Linked DNA regions of Homo sapiens: all the other regions are linked to region 4. The links are contacts of gene promoters, found by promoter capture Hi-C in blood cells and fetal thymus (Javierre and others, 2016). All regions are on one chromosome and are shown on one strand. The core of a region is centred on a gene start or on the middle of the fragment in contact, and the rest is flanking DNA. Distances in the headings are between cores, read along the strand shown.

Region 1 (3,752 bases), core at 761-3,260, 860 kb before region 4:
AAAGCAACTCTAGTAGGGGAACCCGAAGAAATGAATAAAGGGAACAAGAGACAGACATATATACATGCATGCATCCAGATACACTGGCAAAGTTCTACCTGAGTTGAATGAACCAAATATACAAATGTAAGACAATCTTACTGTCAGGGACAAGCATAACTAGTCTGCATAAGCTCACCTGCATGAGTGTCACTGTTTCTATTTTTCTTACTTTGTCCTCACTGTTACTCTCCTCATTGTCAATTATCCCCTTGGTCAGCCAAAATGAAGAATCCCTAGTCCTAGCCTTAGCCTATATTCCCTCTACTAAAAATGGCATGAAAATTCTTTTTAAAGCAATGAAGAGAGAAACCAGGAGATGACAAAAATCTCAAAAAAAAAAACCTGAAAATAGGATTAAAACACAATTAAGAATCTAAAACTCACCATCGTTTACTCTATAGCACAAATTGCATTTCCATCTACGTTGATCAATGAAGGATACAAAGGGGTTAATATACGTTCGACAGGATCGGCACCTCACAATGGTATTTGATGTTATCACTGGTAATTGCTAGGAAATAAAATAAAGAAGCTGTAGCAGAAAAAGGCACCCCAAGGAAAAACAGAACGTACACAGATCTGCTCCAAATACAGAACATAAACCTTAATTGTTTTTATGTGGTTTTATATGGAAGCATATTAATAAAATCCAGGGACATGTTGAGCAACACATGTAGCCATCAAGTTTTCTCCCTCTTGTCACAAATCATAACACTAAAATAAAGTCATAACAAACATTGGCCAAGAAAATAATGTAAGTGAGATCTTATCAGTTTAACTTTAGAAATAACAGTGAGAGAGAAACATACCATATACAAATACCTTTGTCTTTGTTGACTGCACGTGGTACTAGACTATTAGGCACTGCTCATTAGACTGCCACAGCAACTTCTGACAGGAGCTGAGGCCAGAAGCAGTCAAACACAACGTGCCTTTAAAAAAAATTACATCTCTATGCTTAGTTTGGGAAATGAATTTTATATTCAAGTAGAAACTTTAGAAAATATGAAAAAAGATTAAGAGATCACATATTATTCTATGTCTCTGAATTAACCTGCTATCATTTTAGTATATCATTCTGTTTTTTTCTATCTGCACATGAACATTTTGATCTTTGTATTTAATTTTTTCACATATATGATTATTATTATGCAAGTAACCACATATCTGTTGTAAAAAAAAATCAGGAAATATAGTTAACTGAGAATGAGAAAATAAAAAATTACAGAACTCTATATCACAGAAGATGTCACTGTAAACAATTTAGTATACATGCTTCCAGAAGGTATCATGTATATCTGTATTTAGAGAAAAACTCTCTCATATATATACATATATATAGTATACAATTTCATATATATATGAAATTAACTGTCTTGGTTTATAGATAAGGTTTTCAGAGTATTATAGGTGATTAAAAATATTTACCCAATGAATAAATTCACGGTACTTATCACATATTACAATTTTTTATTTTCTATTCATTTTGATCTTTTCTATACTTCCTGGTAGTAAAGTAAGCTTCACAAGGAAGCTTTTAATTTACCCTTTGTATCTCCAGCTTCCAACGTGACAGGTAGTCAATCAATATTTTTTGGATGAATGACAGCAAAAGAAAACTCAGAACCAGTAAGAAGGGTAGTAAACAACAGTAGTAAAAAAAAGTTTGAGACAGAAATGCAACTTATGAAGTACAAATAAAACAGCCCTGAATAAAATTATTTTTGAAGTTTTCAAAATTTAAAACTTTTAAAACTTTACAAGTTTAAAAATCCCTACTGTTACAAAGGTTATTTGTTGAATTAACAAATTTGTTTAATTTGTTAAGGAACAGGCAGTTTTCCTCTCTAAGTGGACATCACTGTTGGTGTTTCCTTTGTGTTTAATAAAGAACTCCGAAAGTGTATCTACCTTCCAGGGCCATTCCACCTTCCAAAACTACTAATCTTTCAAAATCCAGGACAGACTTCAACACTTATAGAAAACTTTTGCTATTGTATCCACAGGGAATCACTTCTCATACTGTACTCACTACCTAAGTATCTCATAGAATTTGATTAATTACATGTATTAATTATCCTGCACTGTAATTATTTTTACATCTTTGTTCCCTGTTAGATAAGAACTTTTTGGAGGCAACTTCAATGACTTGATCATCTCTGTACTACCAGTGCTTAGTTTAGAGCTTGTCACAAAGCAGGTGTTCAAAAAATGTTTGCCAAGTTGTTATGGAAATGATTATTTCTAACTTCAAATAAAAGAAGATATAGAAAATTCTAAGAAAATATAAAATTTAAGTACCTTGTACATAAGCATACATGTCAGTACCCATAAATATTATAAAATGTTACTTTACCGTTAGGTCTCTGAAGGGATGTAACAACAATCCTAAAGGAAGCTTAGCTTTATTCAGTAAAGCCTGTGTCTGTGGAATATTTGTCAAAGTACACCGAAATGAACTGCAAAAAACATAAACAACATGGAGGATATTAGCTATCAGAGAAAAATACACTGAAGTAGATAAGATAACTAAGAACATTTAAGGACATAAGTGAAAATCATTTGGGCATGTTACTGTAACTGTAAGCAAGAAGGTCCTGATTAATTAGGCATGTATGCAATATATGTCAAAAAATCTAAATTAAAGAGTCAACACTTTCATGGTGGAAAAATAGTACACATTCAGGGAAGACCAACTACTCCATTATGACTAGCCTGAAGGAGATGAATAGGAGCACACAGAAAACATAAGTGAAAAGGCCTACTTTTTTTTTTTTTTTTTTTTTTTTCTGAGATGGAGTCTTGCTCTGTCGCCCAGGCTGGAGTGCAGCAGCCCGATCTCGGCTCACTGCAAGCTCCGCCTCCTGGGTTCACGCCATTCTCCTGCCTCAGCCTCCTGAGTAGCTGGGACTACAGGCGCTTGCCACCATGCCCAGCTAATTTTTTGTATTTTTAGTAGAGACGGGGTTTCACCATGTTAGCCAGGATGGTCTCGATCTCCTGACCTTGTGATCCATCCGCCTGCCTCGGCCTTCCAAAGTGCTAGGATTACAGGCGTGAGCCACTGTGCCTGGCCAAATAACTTATGAAGTTTTAAAGTCAATAAACAAAGAATGAATAAAGGAGATGCCAAAGCAGTAAAAAGCAGAAGTACTGAAAGCCAGGCAAGAAATTTTATGAAGAGTCGTTAATATCATGTAGAGATATCTATTTATTCCAGCCTTAGTGTTGTTCCTTGAACACAAAAAGCTTGTTCCTGCTTCAGGACCTCCATATTTGCCATTCATGCAGGTTGGAACCCTTTTATTCCCAGAGAAGTCATGTGGCTTACTCTCTCACTTCACCCAGATCTCTACTCAAATGTTAAAAGTCTTTGGGTAAACCTGTCCAGACTCTTCTATTTACAAGAGTCACCCTCCACCTGCACTCCTTATTCTGATTTATTTTTCTTCATTGTAATACCCTAAACATTACATTATATATTTACTAGTTTGACTGTTCATCGGAGAATATAAGTTCTGTGATTCCACAGAGATCAGGAACTGTGTTTTGTTCACAACTTTATCCCCAGTACACGGAAAACAGTGCTTTGCATTTAACTTCCAAGGCATTTGATAAATGTTTATTGAATGATTTATTTTAGTATGCTGATACTATTATTATTCCTGTTTTACAGTTGACAAAACTGAGACTTTGAGAGGTTAAATAAA
Region 2 (4,129 bases), core at 540-3,039, 750 kb before region 4:
CACAATGCTTCCTCTCTGGGTTGTCAGTTTGTTTCTGTTCCAATCTAGCCAGGGAGTTGTATGCTGAGTCAGGGAGCATAAATTATTCTGGGACAAAAAGTGGTGTGACTATTAGAACAATGTTAAATACTGTATTATTGCATTTAGATGGCAGCTCTTTATGTTTCTCCATGAATGTGTAAAATCCTTGCTCACACCCTGATTTTAATTGATGTCTGACAAATCCAGACTTACTGTGGCAAAAAAAATGACAATGTTAATATTAGCATAATTTTTCTCTTTGCTAACTGGATTTACATATCAACTCCTGGGATAGCATACATTATTTTTTTCTTTGTGCCTTGATTTAATCACAACAGCAACAATTACCTCTATTAGGCCTCTTTCTATAGATATATAGGAATATGGATGAGGATGAATGGCTTACTCTGAGAATTATTATTACTAAAATCTAAGCATTGGCTTTGCTTCCCTTACAAAGTATACATTAGGAAATAATTAGTATTACATAGTAAATTTGAAGCACAGACTTATATGTATCTTCACACTTATTTTAAAATACTTCTCTTTTATCTTTTCACAATGACTGTGAGGCTGATTATTGTTCTTATATTAGGTGAAATCTGTAACTTCACATGTTGGCTCACCAGAGCAATATTAAGAGAGATAATCATCAGCAATATCCACACAAATTGCATTCCTTAAAGCAAACCAATTGCTTTGAAGGTAAGCGAAATGATTCTTCACGGAGAAGTACCAAAATGTCCACTATGTGGTGCTGCTGTACCTGAATTACACAAGGAGGGTAAAACAGTACACTGTACCCTGAATTACACAAAAGAAGGTAAAGAAGTACACTGTACCCTTAATTACACAAAAGAGGGTAAAGAAGCACAAAGTAATAATAATTTCACCCACAAATTCATTATCATCATTGTTCAAGCAATTGTTATTGGGAAGACAAAGAAGAAAATATGTGATACTGAAATTATTACTATATGATGTAAAAGAAGCTATTTTTTTTCAACTTTGTTTCATATATGGAGAGAAAATTATCTTAGGAGAGAAGCTAATAAGTCAATGTGGGTGTTAATTTTTTGGAAAAACAATCAGAAAGAATACATAAACGGAAATTTTAGGGCATGCAAAAATTATAAATAAAGTCTGTGTGCATCTATATATACATACACACACACACATACACATAGAGAGAGAGACTTTAGCCAATGCTATATTTTAACAATGTTGAAAAACTTTTGGCTAAAATAACAATTATTAATCTGGGAATTTCATAAAAATTTTTTAGCAATCAGAATTTTACCAAATATTTTTCAGAATTTTTTCTGTAGCAATCAGAATTCTGTAGCAAGCCAAGTCATAAAAGAAAAAGAAAACCTTAATTTTGATTTCGACTCAAAATTCAAGCCCTATTTATTTTACTTTCAGGCCTATGGAGTAGCAATAGTTGCCAAAATACTAAACATAAGCTGTAAATTTTATGGACCATGCTTTCATTTACTTTTTAGGATTGAGATGTTGGAAGCTTTAGAATGTTGATTATGATGATACCCAAGACTCAAGTTTAAGAAGGAAAGGAAGCAATAAGATCATGCCTGCTATTAGTATAGTCGTCACAGTTATTGTGTAAAGGTAATGTGAAACAATGCAGAATATTTATGTTTTAACAGTTTCCATTTTATGCGACCTGTGGGGAATGAGAGTTATCCAAACTATATAGGCTGTGCCCCTCTTCCCTCCGAAGCAGCGAAGCCCGCGATGAGAACATTACTGCTGCTCTGGTACTTCCCTCTTATGGAACAAATTTGCAAAGTCTGTGGCAGTGATTCATAGTTCAGGAAAGACACACCTTTCAGAAGCAAAGATGAAGAAAGAAGGATGTTATATGTTTAGTCTTTGCTATTTTTACTCTCTGGTTTTCAGTTAAATTGTGACTTACAATTATTTGGTTATGGTGACCCATTAATTCACCAAACAGAAGCCCTATTTGAGTCAAAGAATCCTGTTTCCAAGCTTAAAAGAAAATGAATCTGTATGTTCTTATACTTTCCCTGTAATATGTTCTGTCATTTTACTAATGCTGAAAGTCTATCCAATAGACCTGGACTCATCACAAATAAAAATTTAGAGTTTCACAGAAATGGGTAAAGAGCAATTAGTATTTTCATTAAGAACTAACAAATATAAAGATCAAATTAGGGTTTTTTTTTCTTGGCCCTTGTTTATAATATGCACTAAAAATTACTATTGTACTTAGGAAGTATTTTTAATATTGAAGTTGACCTAAATTGTACTGAAATACTTGAACCTTCTGGTTGGGTCATATGGTATGGACTGTGTGCCACATAAAAATGCCTTTTATGTATTAATTGTGCCTATATTTCTTTAGCATCTGCCTCTCTCATTGGACTATAGACACCACAAAGACTGTTTTATGTCAACAGTGTCTATATAAATAGGTGCTTAAAATTTTTTGTAGAATCAACTGGCAAATGAATAAATGATGATAAACATTGCTGAATTAAATAAATGAAATATAAGCCAGGGCTAAATTCAACCTTAGTAAACAAATTTGTGAACTGTGAGCCATCCAGACTATTCCTAAGACTGAGTGTAGAAGTCCACTGGTAGGAGACTTCTACCAGTTTACATTTAAGATCTTAAGGAACTTACCATCTTGGTTGTTTCCTAAACTTTCTAGATCCTTAACTTCTACTGCAGAATACAGTTTTTAGCTTTCTTGCTTTCTTTTCTTTCTTTCTTTCTTTCTCTTTCTTTCTTTCTTTCTTTCTTTCTTTCTTTCTTTCTTTCTTTCTTTCTTTCCTTCTTTCTTCTTTCTTTCTTTCCTTCCTTCCTTCCTTCTTTCCTTCCTTCCTTCTTTCCCTCCTTCCTTCTCTCTCTTTCTTCCTTCTCTTTCTTTCTTTCTTTCTTTCTTTCTTTCTTTCTTTCTTTCTTTCTTTCTTTCTTTCTTTCCTCTCTCTCTCTCTCTTTCTCTCCTTCCTTCCTTCTTTCTTTTTTTTTTTCTGGAGTCTCACTCTGTCACCCAGGCTGGAGTGCAGTGGTGAGATCTTGGCTCATTGCAATCTCCGTCTCCCGGGTTCAAGCAATTCTCCTGCCTCAGCCTCCTGGGTAGCTGGGATTACAGGCGTGTGCCACAATGCCTGGCTAATTTTTGTATTTTTAGTAGAGATGGAGTTTTGCCATGTTGGCCAGGCTGGTCTCAAACTCCTGACCTCAAGTGATTCGCCCGTCTCGGCCTCCCAGAGTGTTGGGATTACAGGTGTGAGCCACCGCGCCTGGCCAACACCTTGTTTCCTGACTCTGCTGTTTCATGACAATAAACCCAACATTCAGATAACCAATAGCTGCATAATACTTTCCAATTTCATCTATGATCTCTAGTCTCACTAGATATGCCAGGTCCATGTCAATAAGCATTATTGTCACCCAGGCTGTAGCGCAGTGGCATGATCACAGCTCACTGCAGCCTTGACTGCTGGGGCTCAAGCGATCCTCTGCCTCAGCCTCTTGAGGAGCTAGGACCACAGCACATGCCACCACACCCAGCTAGTTTTTTTAAAAAAAATATTTGTAGAGACAAGGTTTTGCTGTGTTGCTCAGGCTGTTGTCGAACTCCTGGCCTCAAGTGATCCTCCTGCCTTGGCCTCCCAAAGTGCTGGGATTACAGGCGTGAACCACGGGGCCCAACCTTGTGTTTGGTTCTGTGCTAGTATTCTACATACACCATGATGTTTTATTCCTTTATGCCTTTATTAATTGTGATTTCACCACCTTGAATACTTTTTCCTTCCTTCTTTACTTGTGTAACTGCTATACATTCTTTAAGGCTTATCTCGGGCATTACTAGCTCCATAAATCCTTTCTTGAGGCACAAAGCTGGAGTCCCATAAGCTGCTAAACATAGCTCTATTGGAGAACTTAGTATATTTTGTTTTGGTACACATAAACATTACCTGTTTATACATCCATGTTTTCCATTAGATATGAGTTCCTCAAAGTAAAGCAATCAGAAGCACATTAAAGAGAAATACCTCCTATTTCCATTATCAAATATACAAACCTACTTGTTTCAGTATCCAAATACTCTGTC
Region 3 (4,190 bases), core at 1,059-3,558, 930 kb after region 4:
CACATGAGCACTATTTATGTTCTTGTTAATTCATCCAGTGTGAGGGGCTGAAGGGCTGGGGTAAGGTGGCAGTGGGACTAGAGGAGTAGCTGCATTAAAAACATTTAAGGAAGAGTTGAGAGGACCGACTAGATTTAGGGGATGAAAAAGGGAGGAATGTTAGAAGATGATCCTGAAGTTTTGGTCTGGGAAGTGGGGAGAAAGGTTGTTACCTGTGTGGAAATTGGGAAGTAGGTTGGGCACGGGGGTAAGGGTGATATTAGTTAAACACAAAGGAGAGTTTAGTGTGTGCCAGGAACAGTTTGAAATGTTTTACCTATATTAGCCCATTGAGTTTTTGTTACATTTCTGAGGGTGAATATTATGAGAGACAGTGGTTAAAAGCAGGACCCTGGAGCTGACTGCCTGGGCTGAAATCTGGACTCCACTATTTATTAACTATGTAACTTTTGGTTGGTCACTTAATTTCTCTATGCCTCTATGTGCTTATCTATAAAATGAGAATGATAGCCTCACAGGGATATTGTGACAATTAGAGTTAGCTCTTACTGTTATCATCCTCTATTACAATTAGCATTTGCATTTTATAGATGACAAAACTGAGGCACAGAGATGTCATGGAGCTTGTTAGTGCTGGACCCATTTTAAACCTGTTGCATTTGAGGGACAGCCTTAGTAGAGATAGTCTATAGAGGAAATATGAGCCATGTATATAATTCAACATTTACTAGATACCACATTAAAAAGTAAAAAGTAACCGCGAAATAAATTTCAATAATATATTTAACCTACTATATCCCAAATGCTATCATTTCAGTGTTTTTTCAATGTTAATATAAGTTCAACACTATCATAATTAATAAAGAGTTATAGAAATCTGGAGTTTTTTTTTTTTACAGTTAGTACACATTTCACTTCATACTATCCACTTTTCAAATAGTAGGGACATGTGGATAACATAGTTACAGAAATTGAGTTGTGCTGAGGTTGGAAGTAAAGGTTTCATAGTTAAATTTGAGTTAAAGAATATAAGGAAAGTAAATGTGAGACCAAATACTAAGCTTTGGATAATAGCTCCTGTTAAGGATTAGGTAAAGGAAGTGTACTCGTGGGAGACAATAGGCAAAGAGATGGGAAAATGTAGTCTTACAGCTCTGGGAAATGGTTAGAATTACAGGAAGTTAAAGTTGTCCATATACCTGTGGGAATAGTAAAGAAAAACCAAGAAATTGACTTGCTCTTGGAGCTGCCTCTTACTTCAGTCTGATAAAGCGTCAGATATAATGAATATCATTTTCTATCCAATTGAATCTTTCTCCAATGGGACCAGTTTTCATCTGCCCTTGGGGATGTGTTAGTTGGGCTGAGGGAAATTTGGGACACTCAGTTCAGGCCCAGGTGTCATTCACCCATTTTGTAGAATCATATTGGGCTGAAACCCTGTTGGACCTGCCTTACAGTGGAGTAGTGTCCTAAAAGAAGCGTTTGAAACTGGACGTGACATTAAGAAGCATATGCAGTCTCTGGTTTGCTTTTCCATTCACCTTTCACAACTCCCTGAATTTCCATAGCTCCAGCCCAACTTTCTGTCCATATCATACATCCTCATGGTTTTACACAAGCCTTTCCTTCTCCCTGGGATGCCTGTTACCCTTTGTCAGGGGCTGAAATGTTTAGAGCCTTGGACCATTTTACCTTAACAAATGTGTGGCCCTCATAGGTACATATGTTCACTTGCTCGTGGGCTGAATTGTTTGTGCTCTTCTGCATTATGTTGCATTCTCTCTGCTATTATGTATCTTGTGATCATACTTCATTATAGATGTTTTGTATCTACACTGAGCTTTTCCTGATATAACAGAATTGGGGATAAGGGGCAGATGCAAAGTAGCTCGGTAGCTCTGATATTGAAATCCTTAGATAATTCATTAGTATCTTACAAAAGCTTAAGTAACGGAATAAGCTCCATATGTGGGAGGATTCAGATTACGGTTTTGTCACTTACCATCTGGGTGATCTTGGGAACATTATTTAACTCCTTCATCTCTCAATATCCTCATCTGTAATGAGATAATAAAACATAACTCATAGTGAGGCTAATGGTGCATACCATATGGGGTTATAGTGAGGTTTAAAGAAGTTAATATATTTATAAAACTATGGTTCCTGGCACATGAGTACTATTCTTGTTCTAATTATTTATTAGCTCCTCAAATATTTAACACTTAAACTTTGTATGTGCCTTTGTTCCAGGTCCTGAGGATGCAGTGGTAAAAAGACAGAAAAGTGTCCTGTTTCATGGATATTACATTCTACCTGGGAGACAGTTAATTAAACCAAATAAATGAATGAAATAATTTTCCCTTTTACCAATTCTATCTTTCCCAAACAGCTTGTCTCCTTATATGTGGATGTTTTTCGTAGAAGGCCAGCAGCACATTCTGGATTTAGCTGAATACTCAGATGATACAAAAATGAAATAAGAACAGAGAAGTGGAACAGACAGCCAAACAAGAGGCCAATGTACTTGTCCTTCAGAGGATTGGCCTGGGTGTGGTCAGGGGCAGGCATTGGTCTTTTATTTCCCCCATCCCCAGGTTTAACAGAGAATTGATCTTTCTACCCTGGGAAGATGATACTAAAAAAATTGCCTGATGAAAAGGGAAGCTTAAACTTCTACCAATAACAGCAATAAGACGAATGATAGTGAGGTCTAGATCTGTGTTGTCCGGTTCACGATCCACTTGTGGCAACTGAAATTTAATGAACATTAAGAAAGTAAAAAATTCTATTTGTTAGTTGCAGTAACCACGTTTCAAGAGCTGCGTATGTGGTTAGTGGCCACAGGAATTGGACAGCACAGTATAGAACATTTTCATCATCTCAGGAAGCTCTATTGGACATTGCAGATCTAGATGAAGCTTTGTGATGGCTGCTATTTTTTTTTTCTACTTATCTGTGTGTTTATGTATTCAGGTATTTTTACTCTGTTCCCAAGAACAGGAAATTTCCAGAGTGAGTGGATACTTTGAAATTTTAGTTTTGGGCAGTTTTGCACCCTGGCTTCTGGTAGCATGTCCAGCAGTATTAGCCTCCCCTTAGCGTAGTTGCTTCTTCAGATTTGAAGTGTCAATATGCTTCCCAGCCTGGGTGTGTTACATTGAATTTTGAGGAGTAGTTCTCTATGCCAGTGGTTCTCAATCGTGAGATTTTACCAGCCCTAGGGGGCATTTGGCAATTCTGGAGACAATTTTGGCTATTCTACTTGCGTATGGAGGGGGATAATTCTTCTAACATCTATTGGAAAAGATTTCTTAAAAAAACCTAAATTTCTAAAAAAAATTCTTAAATCTGAAATGCAAATGTAAAATCCAGTTGAAAAATCCAATTGTTGTGGCATTTTTTTCCCCCATCAGCCTGGAAGTTGCCATTTCTTACTCTGAGATGGATCAGTTACTCATAGCATACCAGTAACAAGACAGGAAAACCCCAATCCTGAATTGTTTTGAAATCAGATTAAGTAATTAGTTCAAATGGAGGGAGTGATTTTTCTTTTTGGTGTTAAGCGGTAGTAGAGAGAATGTTCTCAGGGAGACTATTGCAGTGGCTATAGAGACTTCTGCAGTGGAGTTTTGCCGTAGGGGAGAGAGATTGGGCTCAGTTCCAAATACAGTAAGGAAAAGTGGGAATTTATGGTGAGGGAGCAGGGTGGGGGTCGGTGGATGGAAAATTACTAAGAGGAAACATTAAGAATTAGGGAGTATTCTGACTAAAACGATTTAACAGGGTTCTTGCTGAAGGCAGGCAGGCCAAGGTGATCAGACATCATTGGGGGATGGTGCAGCTTGAAGAGTTTGGTCAGCTATGGAGGATGGGGGATTTCTGCTAAAATTGGACTCTTGAAGACGTGCCCGAGGATAGGGCCCAGTTGAAAGAGGGTTCAGAAGGAGCCTGCCTAGTTTGATCAAGGAGAGAAATCTTGTCGGTGGTAATCGTTTCTGTGACATATCTTTTCCTAAAGACACAGTTGTTAAATTTTAACTGAATAATGATGGTGGAAATACCAGACATTATGTAGAGAAATTCAGTATCTGTCTTTGGATGAATGCAGCCATTGTGCAGGCTGTTTTCTCTTATTCTTCTCTCTAGTTACTTTGGTGCTTGCATACCTTACCTCTGTCTTTGTCTTT
Region 4 (4,013 bases), core at 1,513-4,012:
CATATCATTTCCTCAGGAATCATATCGAATCCAATCCAGATGATGCTTCCAACTCCCTTTAGTTTCTCAAAAACCTCTTGTTCTTTTCTTTCACTGTATTTATAACCATTGTTTGTTTGTTTTTATTTTTTGAGAGAGGGTCGGGTCTTGCTCTGTCACCCTGGCTGGAGTGCAGTGGTGCCATCACAGCTTACTGCAGCCTCAGCTTCCCAGGCTCAGGCGATCCTCCCACTTCAAACTCCTGCACCATAGTCCCAGCTACTTGGGACTACAGGCGTGCGCCACCAGGCTCAGCTAATTTTGGGGTTTGTTTTTTGTTTCTGAAACAGGGCCTTGCTCTGTTGCCCAGGCTGGAGTGCAGTGGCACCATCTCGGCTCACTGCAACCTTCACCTCCCGGGTACAAGCAATTCTCCTGCCTCAGCCTCACAAGTAGCTGGGACTACAGGCGTGTACCACCACGCCTGGTTAATTTTTTGTATTTTCAGTAGAGACAGGGTTTCGCCATGTTGCCCAGGCTGGCCTCGAACTCCTGGGCTCAAATGATCCAACTGGCTCAGGCTCCCAAAGTGTTGGATTACAGGCGTGAGCCACTGCGCCTGGCCTGTTTTTGTGAACATTTTTAACGGACAAAAAAATTAAGTGACATTTAATATGTCTCATCTATGACATTATAAGCTTCAGGAGGTCAGGGTCCTTATGTTTTGTTCTATTATCTCCAGTACCTAGTGCCTGAAACTTAACGGGACTCAGTATCTATTTGCTGACTATTTGTCAGCAACAAATAGTTTATTTATAAAGGTGCACTCAGTTTTTAGAAGAGACTTCTTCCCTTCCAGTGGCAAAACCAATTCATCATACAAGATACCTCATAGACCTGGCCACTAAAAAGCAACCTTTCCACTTTCCCCCAATGGTTGGGACAAAGAATCTCCCCATTACAATAATCAACAGGAGAAAAAAGAGGGCCACAAAGAAAACTGAGGCTTCTCGCAAAGAATCCGACTCCAAGGGAAGTAAGGGTTACAGGAAAGAAACTAGCATTATTCATTATTATTATTGAATAATGACTTTTTTTTTGTCCAACGACCTTCGTGAACTGTGCAAAAATATGGAACGCTTCACGAATTTGCGAGTCATTCTTGCACAGGGGCCATGGTAATCTTCTCCCTATCATTCCAATTTTAGTATATGTGCTGCCGAAGCGAGCACTCAATAATAATACTGAATTATTCTATATTATTTATTTTTAAAAGTCTATTATTTTTAAAAGCCACATGCATTTTAAATTTTGTTTATTCAGTACAGTAGCTATTAACTTGATGAGCAAATGTTAATGGTTAATGCTAATGCAATGCTAGATAGTATCTTGTTACCAAATAAGTATTTAAATGTAACTCAAATATTTAAATGTAATTTATTTAAATGAACGTAAGTTAATTCTCACTATTCTAGATTGGGGGAAGGAGGTAAATTCAAAGGTGCTTTCTAGAACTCAGCTCTCTCAGTTTGAATCCTCCCCCTTCAGTGCCAACTATTCTCACAAAACATCTATGAAAATAACAATTATATGGCCACTCCCTTAAAAGTAGAACTACTTTTGCTATCCCAAATCCGTAGCTTTAATTTTATAATTTCCAGGTTAAGTACACCACTTCCCAAAATCTAAATTAATTTTATAATTTCCAAGTTAAGTACACCACTTCCCCAAATCTAAATGTACACAGTAGCACAGTTCTAAGTAAATCTTGGAACTGTGGCCTGAAAGGGTAGTGGCTCTGAAAAGACTAGCCGGATTGCCAACTCACCAGTACATAAGGCAACGCCCCTTTGCAATTTTCTATTTGAAAAGGACAGAATAAGATGATAGACAATTCAGAAGCGTTTAATAGTAATGCTATTTATCTTATTTTTTTAATTCTCAACTTCTGCCCACTGAAATACAGTATCGTCTGCAAATCTCATCTCCAATCTCAAATATTTATCAAACCTGTGATTTCAGAAAATTCCATTGATATTTATTGTAGGTCATGCAAAAGGCAACACAGAACCCTAGGTTTGAGCCAACAAAACTAAAGATTGTCAAGTCTCTTCCAAGATTCCAGGACAAAGATAAGTTTAAAAGTCCCACAAGCTCTTGACCAACCATGGAAGCGGAGTTGGCCAAATTAGACCTTCCCAGGACCTTTATCAAACAACCAACCATGGAAACGGAGTTTGCCAAATTAGGCTTTCCCAGGACATTTATCAAACAACGTATGGCAAGCAACAAAAAGAGCAACAATTTGGCCTTGAAAAATATATTTGACTCGGATCCCTGGGATGGGAGGGCTAGAAGGAGAAGAAAGGCAATGGGAGTGAGAACACGAATTCTCTTAAGACAGGGCGTGAAGGCGAATAAACTTGGACGTTAACACTTCGGACCCCAGAACTCCCCTCCACCCTCAGAAAAGATCCAAAGCAGAGCTATGCTTCCCCCGGGGCTGAGAGTCAGCGGAACAGACGCGCCTCCCGGGGCGGGTCAGTTCTCCGCTCCTCAGCCTCTCGGGCCCGACAGCCCGAGTTACCTCCGGTGATGAGGAAGTAAGACACCACCACCAGAGCATACACAGTCATGGCCGACGGCATGTGCAACCAGGGCGGCTTCTTCAGCTTCAGGTTGGGACATTCGAGCACTAAGAACGGGACACGGTACAAAGTCTCCATGTTGGTGGCAGCAAGGGCCGTTCTCGGCCTCAAGCCCCACGCGCCTCCCGGAAACAGGCCCGCCCTCCCTAACAAGTGCGCGTGCGCGAGGAAAGGACCCGCAGATCCGTAAAGCTCGGAGGTGGTTACTATACTCATAGAAGAAAATAAGAAACTAAATAAAACAAATAAATGATATGAATAAAGTGTTGTAAATTATTTAATCTAATTAAACTTACATTGTGATAATGTACTCTACATTTTTCTAATGGATATATAGGTGATTTGTGTACCTTCAAGGACCTGCGGGACTTCTAACGTGGCCAAGCCGGAGAAGCGGAGGCCAAGGAATCTAGGTGAGCCCCGCCCACTCGCTGACGCAGGGGATTTGAAAGCTGATTGGACAGGGGGCGCTCCCGGTTCCCAGAGCGGGAGATGAATGGGAACTTTTGGATATAAATGCCTTTTATATTAGAGGTTTTTTCAAGGGTTAGGAAAAGCCGGAGGCTGCTGAGCTTTTACTTCCCGATGTAGTCGTGGTAATAATAAGAATTAATAATAGTTGCTAAAGTAATATGTTACCAATTTTTTTTAAACATCCAGCCTGGATCACAAATGTCAACAGGACATCTCTACAGGGATGCCTTAATGCTGATAGCTTGGCGTGACCATAATACTATTTTGAATAACTCATCCTCTCAACTTTGCTCTTCCCTTGGTCATCTGTATGTCGCTAAAAGGTAAAATCCCTCTGGCCAAAAATCTTAAAGTCGTCTGGATTTCTCTCCTTACTAACCTTCTGCATCCAAAATATTAGTAGGTCTCTTTGGCTGTACTACCAAAATATCTCCAATTCATCTGCCCCTCACCATTCCACCACTGACACCCTAGTGTGAACCACCGCCATCTCTGGTCTGGGCAACATTTACAATCCAAATAGATGAAAATATATGATGGAGAATTAGTCATTAGGGATGGACTAGAAGGTCTAAAAGATTTTTTGTTTTCTGTTTTGCTTTTCTTTTTTATATAATCTTTTAAGACTCTACAAATGTTAACTTCCTTTTGGAGCAAGAGTTAAGAGTCACTGATTACATAAGTCCAGAGCATATTGACACATTATAGAGCCAATGTTTTTATATTTTTTTATTTGCTTGTTACTAAGCCCGTGGTTATTTTTACAGGATGCCATGTATTGGTTCTGCACTTCTAATTAGCTAACAACTCAATTGTTAAGAAATTGCTTGAAGACGGTAATGAAAATACTATCAAAACATTGTAGTATCCAATTCTAAGTACAGTTGAGGCTTGCTGCCCTTACTGTTCATT
Region 5 (4,224 bases), core at 585-3,084, 600 kb after region 4:
GAGCTGCTGGGTTATGTTTAGTTAGAAAACAAAGCCAGATTCTTAAAAATTAATAAAATTGAAAGGAAATTGGAGGCAGCTGAAGAACTCTTAAGTCTTGTCCAAGTCTCAGGGTAAAAATTAAGGCTTCAACAACTAGAAAGTGAAAAAATGACATCCTGTTTTCCATTCTTTATCTTTTGTAACATATTTAGAAAGCACCTCAGCTAGAATTGTTACCAAACAAGCAAAAGACCCCTGGGGGTTCAGAACTCTTGGGAAGGAAGCCTGCATCTAGGGAGGGGAAGGGGGATGTCAAACTGGGGAGAACCAAGTGTCGCACGGCAGCCAGGGCAACACGTGGCTGCGCAGCTACCCTTGGCCACAGGTCGGCACCTCCTGGGAAAACTTCTGCACCCTGCTCAGCACTGTCCCACACTTGGCCTGCAGTGGTTTTTTTTTTTTTTTTTTGAATAGTGGCCTAGCCCAGTTGGGGGTACCTTGTGCTGCCATTTTACCACAGTGGTGAGGTCCTGTGGAAGCGACTGCTGGCGTGCTGTTTATCTTGCATGGATTGCCAGATCGCTGCATAGGAGGTGGAGGTTGTGGTGGCCCGGAGAGGCTCCCATATGTGTCGTTTCTGGGAATGCTCCAGTCTGAGGTGACGGCCTACCTGTGTCTTCCTTCTTTTTATGCTTGTGTTCAGAAATCCCTGTGACACCTGTCACAGACTAACAGGAAATGTGTACAGGATTCACAAGGTGATGACACTTGACTACAGATAATCTCAGGCTTGGTTTCATTGTCTTAAATAGCAATGGCAGCATAATGACAGTGTGGTTAGACTCAGTTATGCGTGGACTGCAGTTTTTCACATCCTGGCCATTGTTCCAGGATCCCTAGGTGCATTCATGGGAGCCTTTTGATGGCAAGTGCCGGAAACAAATGGTGCTCACTTAAGGAGAAAGGGGAAATGTGTTTTAAGGATATAGGAGCATCTTGTGGAATCCAAGGACAGTAGAGCAGTTGGGCCAAAAAGAAAACTGGAAATTGGAAAGCTGTCCAGACACTTTCCCTGCTGCTTCCATCTGTCCCTCCCTGAAAATCACTTCCTCCTTCCCTTCCCAGATTGACTCTCTCAGTTCTCTGAGCCTTATGTTTAGAGCACTCAAGCTATATGTTGTTACAATATCATCTCCCAAAGAGACAATAATTCTTTCAAATTCTGTAGAAGCGACTCTGGTTAGCCCAACTTGGGTCAAACTTCCACCCCAATCTATAATCAGCTGTGGCCAGAGGAGAAGGTCACATTGTACAAAATGGCTGTCAGGAGCTCACTGCTCTAACAGTGTTGGAGTTGGGATAATGGAGAGGAGAGCTGGACAGCAGCCCGACAGATGTCCGCTATAGCTCACTAGGAAGCTGATAGTTGGGGTGGTTTTATCTAGACAGCTCTGTGTTAATAAAGAAATTGGGTTGGGTTCATGGGTACAGTGAAAGCTTTTAAGAATGGGCAGTATCCCTTCCATCAATTATCTTTTCTCTCCTTAATGATCAGAAGAGCTAGAATTGTGTTTAAGTTGCCTTGGGGAGCAGAAATAGAGAAATAGACCCTCAGGTAGCAAGACTGATCTGATGCCATTAAAAAATAATAGCAGAGGGAGAGGAGTATATGAGGTTCATTAAAACCCTCTTGAAATGCTTCATGTTTAGTATTGTTCATGAAAACTTACCAAATGGAATTAAGATCAATGCACTAGAATATAGAATAAAAAAGAAGTATTTTGGATAAATTTTGTTTAATAGAACTGTTTGTTACTGAGTTGTGAGGAACTGTGTGGAAATGAGCCCTTCTGGATAATGGAGTTTTTCAGAGAAGCTATATGGTTTACATCTTTAAGTGTCAAAACATGTAATTTTTCAAAGCACTTTTGGATGCAACTCTGTCTTCTTCAGCAGAGTACATTGAAATTGATTTGAATACGAATACCTCATGCCATTATTTTACAGTGAATATTATATATGCCACAAGGAGTATGGTGATTTGTATAATACTATTCTAAATGACCCCAAATAACATGGAATTTTAAGAAACTGCTTTTTAATAATTCTTTTGTGGCTTCCTTTGCTGTTTGGGACTATACCCTGTACCCACAATAATATGTTTCTTCTGATCTGTGTGGATTTAGGAACCAGGAAAATGAAGCTTAATTGAATAATATGTAAATTAAAAGTAAATGGGGTCTGATTTGGGGTATAGAGAAAGGCTAAAATGTGCTATTTTAAGAAAGGCTAAAATGTGCTATTTTTGCACATAAATTTCATGACATTACTGTGATACCTTGAGATAGTTTTAACGTGTTTTTCCTCAGCAGTGTTCTTCATAAATGAAGCTACCATGTTACTGAGAGCCAGATGAGTGGGAAATCCTGCTGCTCATAGCTGTCTGTGACCTTTAGCAAAGTAACTTTATTCTTTTTGACAGAATGAAAGAAAAATTAAAAGCATTAAAAATTAAACTCACTTTTTGGCATAAGGTTTACATCAATCTCTACACTAAATTTTTCTAACTGCCTATATATCGTTTTTGTGAATCTAACTTTTTTTTTGTATTGGGATTAGTTTTTCTCAGCTAGCATCATGCTTTTAGAAGCATTCTGTTTCATAAGAGATATTTTAATTAATTGGCAGAATACCCTGTTGGTCTTAATTTTCTACCAGAAGTTCTGTAATAGTATGAATCTTGCTTGCTGCCCCGAATGTGTCGTGTGAAGTTGGAACAGCAGAAATGGTCCCAACCTGTATGGACCACCTGCCACATTCCAGAGGCTTTAACAGATGCTTCTGCATGTGTTGCCTCCTCTCGTTCTGTAGCAGCCCCATTGTGGGGTGGAGGGGACAGATTTCAGTTCTGTCTGAAGGATGAGAAAATAATCACTTGTCCAGGGCCATGCAGCTGGCGAGTAGCAGCGCTGCGTCTGCAGAGTGAATTACCATCAGCTCTGAGCCCCAGTTCTCCATCCTCTGCTGTTACTGCACTCACTACGCTGCTTCAGGGCGTCTGCCCTGCACTCGCCCGGCTCTGCACATACGTCTCCCACATCCCGCAGCGCACCTGATGAGGTAGAGCAGCTTCTTATCTTCACTTTACAGATGAGGAAACAGGTTTGGTACGTTCAGAGTGCATGCCCGAGATTTCCAGGTGGTAACCGATGGACCCAGGATCCAAACCCAACCCAGGACTGTCAGTCCTTAGAGCCCACACTCTAACCCATACAAGTTATCACCTCCCTGTGCTTAACCAGATGCACAGGTGCACACACAAATGCTGGCATAACTGTGGAAGGGCTTGGTTTGGGTAAACAAAACAAAAAAAGACCAAAGTGTGCCCTGATCCTGTCACCTCATTTGTAGAAGGTGAACTTAACATCTTTAGTGTGAGAGAACGTCTGTTGAGAGAAATGTGGATTGGATAGCGTTTGGAGGTGAGTAGATGAGGGAGGTCTACCTAGCTAGTTATTACCCTCTGGAAGCACTTCAGCTGACAGAACTACAATGGGCTTTTGAGGCTCTCTCCTTCAAAACTTGCTCAAGACCATTTCTCCCATGTTTCCCGTGGTAGGAAGGATCTAGCGGTCATGACCTGCACCAGGAGGTCTGGCCTACCAATAGGACACATGTCCTCACAGAGGAGACAAACACAGAGGGCTAGGCTGATCAGGAAGAGAAACCAGTAGCTACAGAAAAATTCCCCTGGAGTAATTCATTAACGGTCACAGGCTTGTCTCAAAGTCATCTTGACATTGCCAAAGTCTGGTTGAGCTGATGGTAATTCACTCTGAATAGCCACAGGAGAGGAAGCCTTGCCTTGGTAGAACATGAATCCAGGAGTGGCAATGACCCCTTTCCTCCCACCTCCAGCTTCTGGGAATCTTTTTGCTTTAGAGCTTTGTGGTTAGGGGATTAACTAACTAGTCTTGAATGCTGGGACTAAGGAGTCATTCAGCTGCAGAAATAAAACTCAGTGTTAACCTTCCTAACCACACATTTTCATTTTTCTTTTTTCTCAAATGTTGGGTAATGTTTACTGTCAAGGAGCTGAAGCTGGCTTTTGTAGGTTATATTTCCAGTCTTAGGGACTTAAATTTCAAAGTTAACTTATGCGTTTGTTTCTCTTTATCATCTTTCTTCAAACAGAGCGTGATATCCTGGGGGTGGCTGCACTGTTACAGATGTAGACTGCCT
Region 6 (3,961 bases), core at 1,020-3,519, 790 kb before region 4:
AGAACATGAAACTTTAAAAGCTTTCACTATGTAAAATAATTTATACCATAATACAAAAACAGGTCTTTTTTCTGCTTTGGCGTGTTACACTTTTTACCCTGTTCACGTATAAGAAAAGTGTTTTTAACAAAAAGAAATGAAAATCTATCGTATTTCATTATATCTAAGGTGTGTTTTGATACTGCCACTATTTATCTTCACAGGTGTATTAGGTTCCTGCTGCTACTATAACAAAGTACAACAAAGTCAGTGTTTACAACAACACAAATTTATTCTCTTAGAGTTCTGGAGGTCAGAGGTCCAAAATCAGTTTCACTGGGCTACAAAGTGTCAAGGGACAGGGCTGGTTCCCTTTGGACACTCTGAAGAGACAATCCGTTTCCTTGCCTTTTCCAGCTTCTAGTGGCCACTGGTATTCCTTGGCTTGTGGCCCCTTCCATCTCCAAAGCACATCACTCTAACTTCTGCTTCTGTCTTCACATTTCCTTCGCTGCTGGCTCTGACTTGTCCTGTGTCTCTCTAATAAGAACTGCTGTGATTGTATCAGGCCTACCAAGTTCCAGGAAAACCCCATCTCAAGATCCTTAACTTAATCACTGCTGCAAAGGTTTCAGGGATTAGGACATGGACATAGCTGGGGAACCCATTATTCAGCCTACCACATCAGGTATCAATGGCAGATTCTCACACAACTATATTATGATTTCACTTTATGGAAAGCAAGTTTAGAATTCCACTGATTCTAAAATGCACCCCAATTTCAGAGGTAAAAAATGTAAAAAAAAAAAAAAAAAGCATCTTAGAATAAATTAATTTGATTATTGCACTCCCCAAATTGCCCAATACAATGCCTTACATAAGCATCAAATAATCACTGAAAAACTAAAACAGGCTGGGTGCGGTGGCTCACACCTGTGATCCCAGCACTTTGGGAGGCTGAGGCAGGGGGATTGCTTGAGTCCAGGAGTTTGAGACCAGCCCAGGCAACATAGTAAGACTTCATCTCTACAAACATGAAATAAAAAATTACGCAGGTGTGGTGGTTTGTGCCTGTAGTCCCAGTAACTTGGGAGGCTGAGGTGCTAGGCTTGCTTCAGCCCAGGAGATTGAGGCCGCAGTGAGCCAAGATTGCACCACTGCACTCCAGCCTGGGTGACAGAGTGAGACCCTGTCTCAAAAAAATAAATAAAATAAAATAATAAAAATAACAGGCTGGGTGCCGTGGCTCACGCCTGTAATCCCAGCACTTTGGGAGGCTGAGACGGGCGGATCACGAGGTCAGATCGAGACCATCCTGGCTAACACAGTGAAACACCATCTCTACTAAAAATCCAAAAAAAAAAAAAAAAAATTAGCTGGGCGTGGTGGCGGGCGCCTGTTGTCCCAGCTGCTTGGGAGGCTGAGGCAGGAGAATGGTGTGAAGCTGGGAGGCGGAGCTTGCAGTGAGCCGAGATTGCACCACTGCACTCCAGTCTGGGCGACAGAACAAGACTCCGTCTCAAAAAAAAAAAAAAAAAAACAAAGAAAGAAAGAAAAAACTAAAAAAATGGCCAGACGTGCTTGTAATCCCAGCACTTTGGGAGGCTGAGGCAGCAGACTGCTTGAGTCCAGGAGTTCAAGACCAGCCTGGACAACAGAGTGAAACTCCATCTCTACAAAAATTACATAAAATTAGATAGGTGTAGTGGCGCACACCTGTAGTCCCAGCTACTCAAGAGGCTGAGGTGGGAGGATCACCTGACCCCAGGAGATCGAGGTTGCAGTGAGCAGTGATCGCTCCAGCTTGGGTGACAGAGTGAGACCCTGTGTCAAAACAAAAACAAACAAAACAAAAAAATTCAGTTTTTATATAATCTCTGAAAGAATTTTATATTCTTAGCTTCAAGTGAACTATGTCAAATAAAAGAGGGAAACAGATGATTCTGACACATTATCTACTCACTGGTACCAATCTGAATGAAGAAATAAAATATTTTTAACAAATGGTCTATAATATTTTCAATGGAGCTGCTCAGCTGGTCAGCCTGACTGATATATCATGTGCCAGCAAGATACAGCCTATGATTTTCTATAAGCATGTATGCCCTCCTTAGCAGGACTAAATTATCACAAGATCTACCCCCAGGACATATCTGTCTCAGTAGCATAACCTCCTTTCAGACACCAGATTCTCACCAAAGGAAAACTGATTCTCTTGCTTTAAGAAAACCTAACATGAAAATTAAAATTTATAAAACAAATATTTCATGCAAGTCTAGTCCCTGTACCAAAAAAAAAAAAAAAAAAAAATCACAGGATCTCTTTAGGGCATATGAAATACGATTTGGTTTGAAAAATTCTCTACCTGACTTCCCTTTATTCTACTTTCACTTCCCTCTAATTCATTACTAACACCACCAGAGTACTTTTTAACATTCCTTACCACACAATCTTTAATGGCTCTTCTTTGATCCAAATGAAGTCTAAACTTCTTAGGACAATTTCTAGGAACTTCCATTAGCAGCCCCAACATAATTGTAAAAACTATTCTTTTTTTTTTTTTTTTTTGAGATGGAGTTTAGCTCTTGTTGCCCAGGCGATGGCATGATCACGGTTCACTGCAACCTCCACCTCCCGGGTTCCAACAATTCTCCAGCCACAGCCTCCCAAATAGCTGGGATTACATGCACTCGCCACTACACCCAGCTAGTTTTGTATTTTTAGTAGAGATGGGTTTTTACCACGTTGGCCAGGCTGGTCTCGAACTCCTGACCTCAGGTGATCCACCCACCTCAGCCTCCCAAAGTGCTGGGATTACAGGCATGAGCCACCACACCGGGCCCAAACCATTCTTTCATTACTCTCTCTCCCTTGTACCCCTGCACTGCTCAGAGTACGTTTTTTAAATTCCTTACCTTTGATTCATGCATTTTTACCTGACAATTCAAAATGTGTCCATCATTTTAGATATAGCTGAAGTTCTAACTTCCTCCCTTAAGATTCCCTATTACTTTAACCAAAAAGAATTGTTTCCTCTTCAAAACTCTGGGCACCCTTCTCACAGGCCTTATGAAGGAAACACATGTTCAGTGCTGACAGTCCTCTCCTCTTTTACTGAGGGGTACAGAACTCCTGGAGTGCAGAGAACATTCACATTTGTATGCCCAGAGTATCTAGCACAAAATGTTATGTAAAGAGGAGCTACATAAATATTTGCTAGGAATTGTAAATTAAATTTATAGGCCAGGCATGGTGGTTCATGCCTGTAATCCCAGCACTCTGGGAGGCAGAGGTTGGAGGGTCACTTGAGCCTAGGAGTTTGAGACCATCCCAGGCAACACAGTGAGATCTCGTCTCTAAAATAAAAGTTATATATAACTGTTAGGATTACATATGCATTGCATAAAATAAGGTTCAGGTGTTTAAGATCAAAATTGATGGTAAATGAGATAATCGGAGGGACAAAGTTCTTAAAAGAGAGGGAACAGAATTCTGTACCCAAATAATCTGAATTTGTCTCAGATAACACAAGAATAATATGCAGGAAGACTGACAGATTTGGTGGCAGAAGATTAATACTTTATCTTCAGATTGTCAGATTGCTTTCAATTTCTTAGTAAAATAAGTAAGGTCACCATTGGAAAGGGAGGCAGAGAGACAGGATACTGAGAATTTGAGGGAAAAGGGGAGCATGTGACACTGGGAATGGAGCAGGGAAATACCACAGGACTAACTGGTACTGAGAGCTCACTTAAGAGATATTACCATAAATATAAAGTTGGAGAAACTTCAAGGAAAATAAAGCATCAACATTGGATTATTCTAATATTACAATACAGCCATTTTATAGGGAAAAAAACATTTGACATAAAAAGGTTACCAAACCTAGTAAAAATGTGCAAAATTGATAAATGAGTAATATAAACATACAGGAAAACACAAAAATAAAGCAAGTTACCTGAATAAGATTGTAACAGTCATG
Region 7 (4,210 bases), core at 880-3,379, 680 kb after region 4:
ACCCAGCTTGGACGTACATTTTCATTTCTCTTGGGTAGTTTTGTGTTTAACTTTTTGAGAAACTACAAAACTGTTTCCAAAATGACTACACAAATTTTATAACCACCAGCAATATATGAGTTCCTTTTTCTCCACATCTTCACCAACACTTGTTATTTTCTGTTTATCTGTTATAGCCATCCTAGTGTGTGTGAAAAGGTACACTTAATTCTCTTCCCTAATTACTAATGATGTTGAGCATTTTTATGTGCTTATTAGCCATTCGTGTATCTTCTTTATTAAAATATTTCTTCTGGGGCCACCACTGCCCCTCTTGCACTTTTGCCAGAAGTGCAGATCGTTTCCCAAATGTGGCCTTGGGCTTTCAGGAGCCCAGTAGTGACTTCTGTGGTCCCTGACTTGCACCCTCACCCTGTTATTGGAGTTGTGCTTCATTTCTCTGTGTGGAAAGAGTGAAGTATTGGGAAGTATGACCCTGGTCACCGAACCAACTCAGAGACTTATTTTCAATATGTACTCATGAATTCTTAGTCTTTCCAAAGGTATATAATTCATTACTGTATTTATTTAATTATTTTGATTTTCCAATTGAACCAGATTTGGCCAGTGGGAATCTCTCCAAGATGGTTCCTTTGTGACATTTCCCCACTATCTTCTCACTTCTTGATTCCTCACCATCTTCTCACTTCCTGATTTTTGGACATAACAAGGCTCATCTTGTACCTCTTCTGACCTAGCTCCAGAAACAGCCATTTTCATTTAGAAGCTCTGGTTCCTCTGAGTGGAAATGGTATTAGAAACCAAGGTCTGGGCACAACCGTACCTTAAAGAGAGTAATCTGGCAGCTGAGTGAAGTATGCATTAGTTCTCTATTACCCTGTGTATTAGTCTGTTCTCCCGCTGCTATGAAGAAATAATTGAGACTGGGTAATTTATAAAGAAAAGAGGTTTAATTGATTCACAGTTCCAGATGGCTGGGGAGGCCTCAGGAAACTTACAATCATGGCAGAAGGTGAAGGGGAAGCAAGGCGCTTTCCTCACAAGGCAGCAGGAAAGAGAAGTGCCAAGAAAAGGGGGGAAAGCCCCTTATAAAACCATGAGATCTTGTGAGAACTCACTATCATGAGAACAGCATGGGGTAACTGCCCCCATGATTCAGTTACCTCCCACCAGGTCCATCCCATGACACGTGGGGATTATGGGAACTACAGTTCAAGATGAGATTTGGGTGGGGACACAGCCAAACCATATTACTGTGTGACAAATTACCACAGCTTTGTGGTCAAAAAAAGAAAAAAAAAATCTCACACTTTGTTTTGATCAAGGAATCAGGGGTGACTTAGCTGGGTGGCTGTAGCTAATGGTTCTTCATGAAACTATAGTCAAAATGTTGTCTAAGTCTGCAATCATCTAAAGGCTCGACAGGAACAGGAATGTCTGTTTTCGAGATGGCTTGCTCACATATGGTACATGGCTGTTGACAGGATGTACCATATTCTTACTGGCTGTTAGCAGGAGGCCTTGGTGCCTTGTCACGTAAGCATCTCCACAGGGCTGCTTGTGTGTCCTCATGTGACAGCAGCTGGCTTCCCTTGGAGCAAGTGACCCAAAAGAGCAAGGCAGGAACCACAATGTTTTTTTATGACCTAGCTTCAAAAGCTGCACATCATTTCTGCAATAGCCTAGTGGTTATACAAGTCAGTGTTATTCAGTGTGGGAGGGAACCATATAAAGAATCATCAGGGGCCATCTTGGACTCTGGCTACCACACAAGCCCAAGATGGTAAAGAGACTTTTCTGTGTTATTTTTATGTTATTTTCTATGCTGTGTTTTACTTTTCACTTGTAGGTCTATCACCCGTCAGGAATTGTTTTTAAGACATGGTGTGAGATAGGGAGTCAGGGTTCATTTATTCCTTTACTGATAGGCAGTTAATATGCACCATTTATTGAAATTTCCACTCTTTCCCCCAGCATACTGCAGGGGCATCTTTGTGACAAATCAGGTGCTCTTATGTGTGTAGGTCTATTGGTCTATTTGTCTTCGTGCCAGTGCTACCCTGCCTTGCTTATTGTAGTTTTATAAGGAGTCTTGACATCTGCTACCATGATTGTTTTGACTATTCTTGGCCCTTTGCTTTTACAAATAAATTTTATTTAGCGTTGGCCACTTTTTGCAATTATTTCTGCTCAGGCCTAACCCTGGTAAGGTTCTGATTTAATTGGCCTGGGGTGAAATCTAGGCATCAGTATTTTTATCAAACACCCCAAGTGGTTCTAAAATACTGCCATAGATGAGAACCATGGATCTAGAAGAACTCTAGTCTGTGGCAGCAGGGAAAATTAAGGCCCAAGAAAGTTGAGTGCTTACCAAAAGTTACACAGAGAGGCAGTTGCAGAACCAGGGCTCCAGCCCAGGTGCCTTGTTTTCCAGTGCAGTCCTCTTTCCACCATCTATATTTACTCCTGGACATGCCACTGTAGGTAAGTAGCAGAAAGGCAGAGAGGAGAGAGTTACCCAGAGACTTTTTAACTCCTTACATCTGAGAGCTTCAGAGGAAATGGCAGTTGGGGGACAACGGAGACATTAGATTATTAGTTTACAGACACAGCCAAGATGCTCAGCAGGGAGGGTGTAACAATGGAATAATAAAGCTACACAGAGATCTGAGAGATCATCTTTCTAATCTTTGATAGATGAAGAAACAGACCAAAGAGATCACATAGCTAGTTATAAGCAGGGGCAGGACTTGGGTCTGAAGTGTGCCACACTCCTGGTTCAGTCCTCATTGTCCCATCGTTGTCATAGACTGACAGGTTCTTCTTGCCTGCTGCTCAGAAAAACCAATGCACTGAGAACAGCAAGTATTGCAGCAAAGAAAGAGTTTAATTATTGTGGGGCCAGACAAATGAGGGGAATGGGAGAAATTTCTCAAATCTGTCTCTCCAATAATTCAGAGGGTAAAGTTTTTAAGGGTAAATTGGTAGGCAGGTAGTGGGGAAACTGAAACAATTGATTGGCTGAAGATGAAATCACAGAGGTGTCTAAATTGTCTTCACACAGCTAAGTCTTCCCAGGGAAGGGGGAAAGGGTGTTCTCAGAACCAAGTGGTATCTCTTTGTTGAAATGCTAAATCTGAAAAATATCTTAAAGACCAGTTCTTTAGGTTTCACAATAGTTATGTTATCTATAGGAGTAGCTGGGGAGTTACAAATCTTATGACCTCTCATGTGACTTTGGAGCAGAAAGCAATGTATAGAAAAGCAAGCTAAGCAGCAGTAGGTTATTGTTTAACCATGCTTATTCTTTAGCAAGGTTCAAGCCCCAACCATAATTCTAATCTTGTGTTATGAATGCAGCATTAGTCTCCAGCAAGAGGGGATTCAGTTTTCCTTGCTTCAAAGTTTAACTATAAACTAAATTCCCTTCATATTATCTTGGCCTCCATGCTAGAATAAACAACAACAAAAAGAAAGAAAAAAGAGAAAAGAAAAAGAGGAGAGGAAAAGAGAAGAGCCTGTGAGGTTGAGGTTAAAAGCAAGACAGTCAGTCATGTTAGATTTCTCTCATTACTTAACAATTCTGCAAAGGTAGTTTCACTATGTTCAGAGTTATACTGAGGTGCATTTAGGGAAAATTCTTCATCTTAAAGATTTTAACAGTGTTGGCATATACTAACCATTCAACATATTTTTTGAATGAATAAGTGAATAGCTTGAAATTTATGGCTATTTAAAAACAATGCCATTTCATGCAGTAACTCCCACCACAGGCTTGAGTTGTGGTCCCTTAGGAGTTTCTGTCTCCAACTTATCTTTGTGTACCTGGTCAGATGTTTCCTGAGAGGAGCAAGCCTTTATTGTTTTTCCTACAATTACGTTTCTTATTAATAGGGCAGAAAGAATATACAGCATATACAGATATACAGCTAAATGGTATTACATTAATCCCAGGCCCCCAGGGAAAATTATTTAACAACCAATGTAACTTTTTTTTTTTTTGAGATAGAGTCTTGCTCTGTTGCCCAGGCTGGAGTGCAGTGAGCTATCTTGGCTCACTGCAACCTCTGCCTCCTGGGTTCAAGCGATTCTCCTGCCTCAGCCTCCCAAGTAGCTGGGACTACAAGCGTGTAGCACCATGCCCGGCTAATTTTTTTTTTTGTATTTTTAGTAGAGACAGAGTTTCACCATTTTGGCCAGGCTGGTCTCG

Evidence for each region. The method cuts DNA at HindIII sites, captures the fragments that hold promoters and counts their contacts. A CHiCAGO score of 5 or more calls a contact.
Region 1: a fragment that was not itself captured here is called in contact with the fragment with the promoter of OSTC in region 4 in 1 of 17 cell types (total CD8 T cells); the score reaches 6.7 in total CD8 T cells.
Region 2: a fragment that was not itself captured here is called in contact with the fragment with the promoter of OSTC in region 4 in 1 of 17 cell types (fetal thymus); the score reaches 7.4 in fetal thymus.
Region 3: a fragment that was not itself captured here is called in contact with the fragment with the promoter of OSTC in region 4 in 1 of 17 cell types (total B cells); the score reaches 7.7 in total B cells.
Region 5: a contact is called between a fragment that was not itself captured here and the fragment with the promoter of OSTC in region 4, in 5 of 17 cell types (fetal thymus, naive CD4 T cells, total CD4 T cells and 2 more). The highest score is 11.2, in fetal thymus.
Region 6: a fragment that was not itself captured here is called in contact with the fragment with the promoter of OSTC in region 4 in 1 of 17 cell types (monocytes); the score reaches 5.0 in monocytes.
Region 7: a fragment that was not itself captured here is called in contact with the fragment with the promoter of OSTC in region 4 in 2 of 17 cell types (naive CD4 T cells and total CD4 T cells); the score reaches 5.8 in naive CD4 T cells.

What each region holds. Positions count from the first base shown.
Region 1 is chr4:109,508,758-109,512,509 of GRCh38, reverse strand. SEC24B (SEC24 homolog B, COPII component) reads right to left here. Exons shown (of 24, transcript NM_006323.5): 8 at 2,399-2,501; 9 at 427-553. Among named protein-coding and RNA genes, the nearest start is that of MIR576, 22 kb to the right of the region's middle. The HindIII fragment of the contact is 864 bases long and covers 1,579-2,442 here.
Region 2 is chr4:109,403,171-109,407,299 of GRCh38, reverse strand. No RefSeq gene overlaps it. Among named protein-coding and RNA genes, the nearest start is that of SEC24B, 29 kb to the left of the region's middle. The HindIII fragment of the contact is 488 bases long and covers 1,546-2,033 here.
Region 3 is chr4:107,713,787-107,717,976 of GRCh38, reverse strand. The region is part of intron 1 of PAPSS1 (3'-phosphoadenosine 5'-phosphosulfate synthase 1); the gene reads left to right. Among named protein-coding and RNA genes, the nearest start is that of PAPSS1, 4.4 kb to the left of the region's middle. The HindIII fragment of the contact is 722 bases long and covers 1,948-2,669 here.
Region 4 is chr4:108,649,348-108,653,360 of GRCh38, reverse strand. It overlaps OSTC (oligosaccharyltransferase complex non-catalytic subunit), which reads right to left and starts at 2,762. Exons shown (of 4, transcript NM_021227.4): 1 at 2,567-2,762. The coding sequence starts at 2,705. It also overlaps the pseudogene RNU6-431P. RefSeq lists enhancers at 1-366, 1,809-1,858, 2,473-2,822. The HindIII fragment of the contact is 4,127 bases long and covers 680-4,013 here.
Region 5 is chr4:108,053,133-108,057,356 of GRCh38, reverse strand. All of the region lies in intron 11 of LEF1 (lymphoid enhancer binding factor 1), which reads left to right. Among named protein-coding and RNA genes, the nearest start is that of HADH, 65 kb to the right of the region's middle. RefSeq lists an enhancer at 381-882. The HindIII fragment of the contact is 706 bases long and covers 1,482-2,187 here.
Region 6 is chr4:109,442,801-109,446,761 of GRCh38, reverse strand. All of the region lies in intron 1 of SEC24B (SEC24 homolog B, COPII component), which reads right to left. Among named protein-coding and RNA genes, the nearest start is that of SEC24B-AS1, 11 kb to the right of the region's middle. The HindIII fragment of the contact is 4,493 bases long and covers 23-3,961 here.
Region 7 is chr4:107,971,823-107,976,032 of GRCh38, reverse strand. All of the region lies in intron 1 of LOC107986298 (a long non-coding RNA gene), which reads left to right. Among named protein-coding and RNA genes, the nearest start is that of HADH, 16 kb to the left of the region's middle. The HindIII fragment of the contact is 8,609 bases long and covers 1-4,210 here.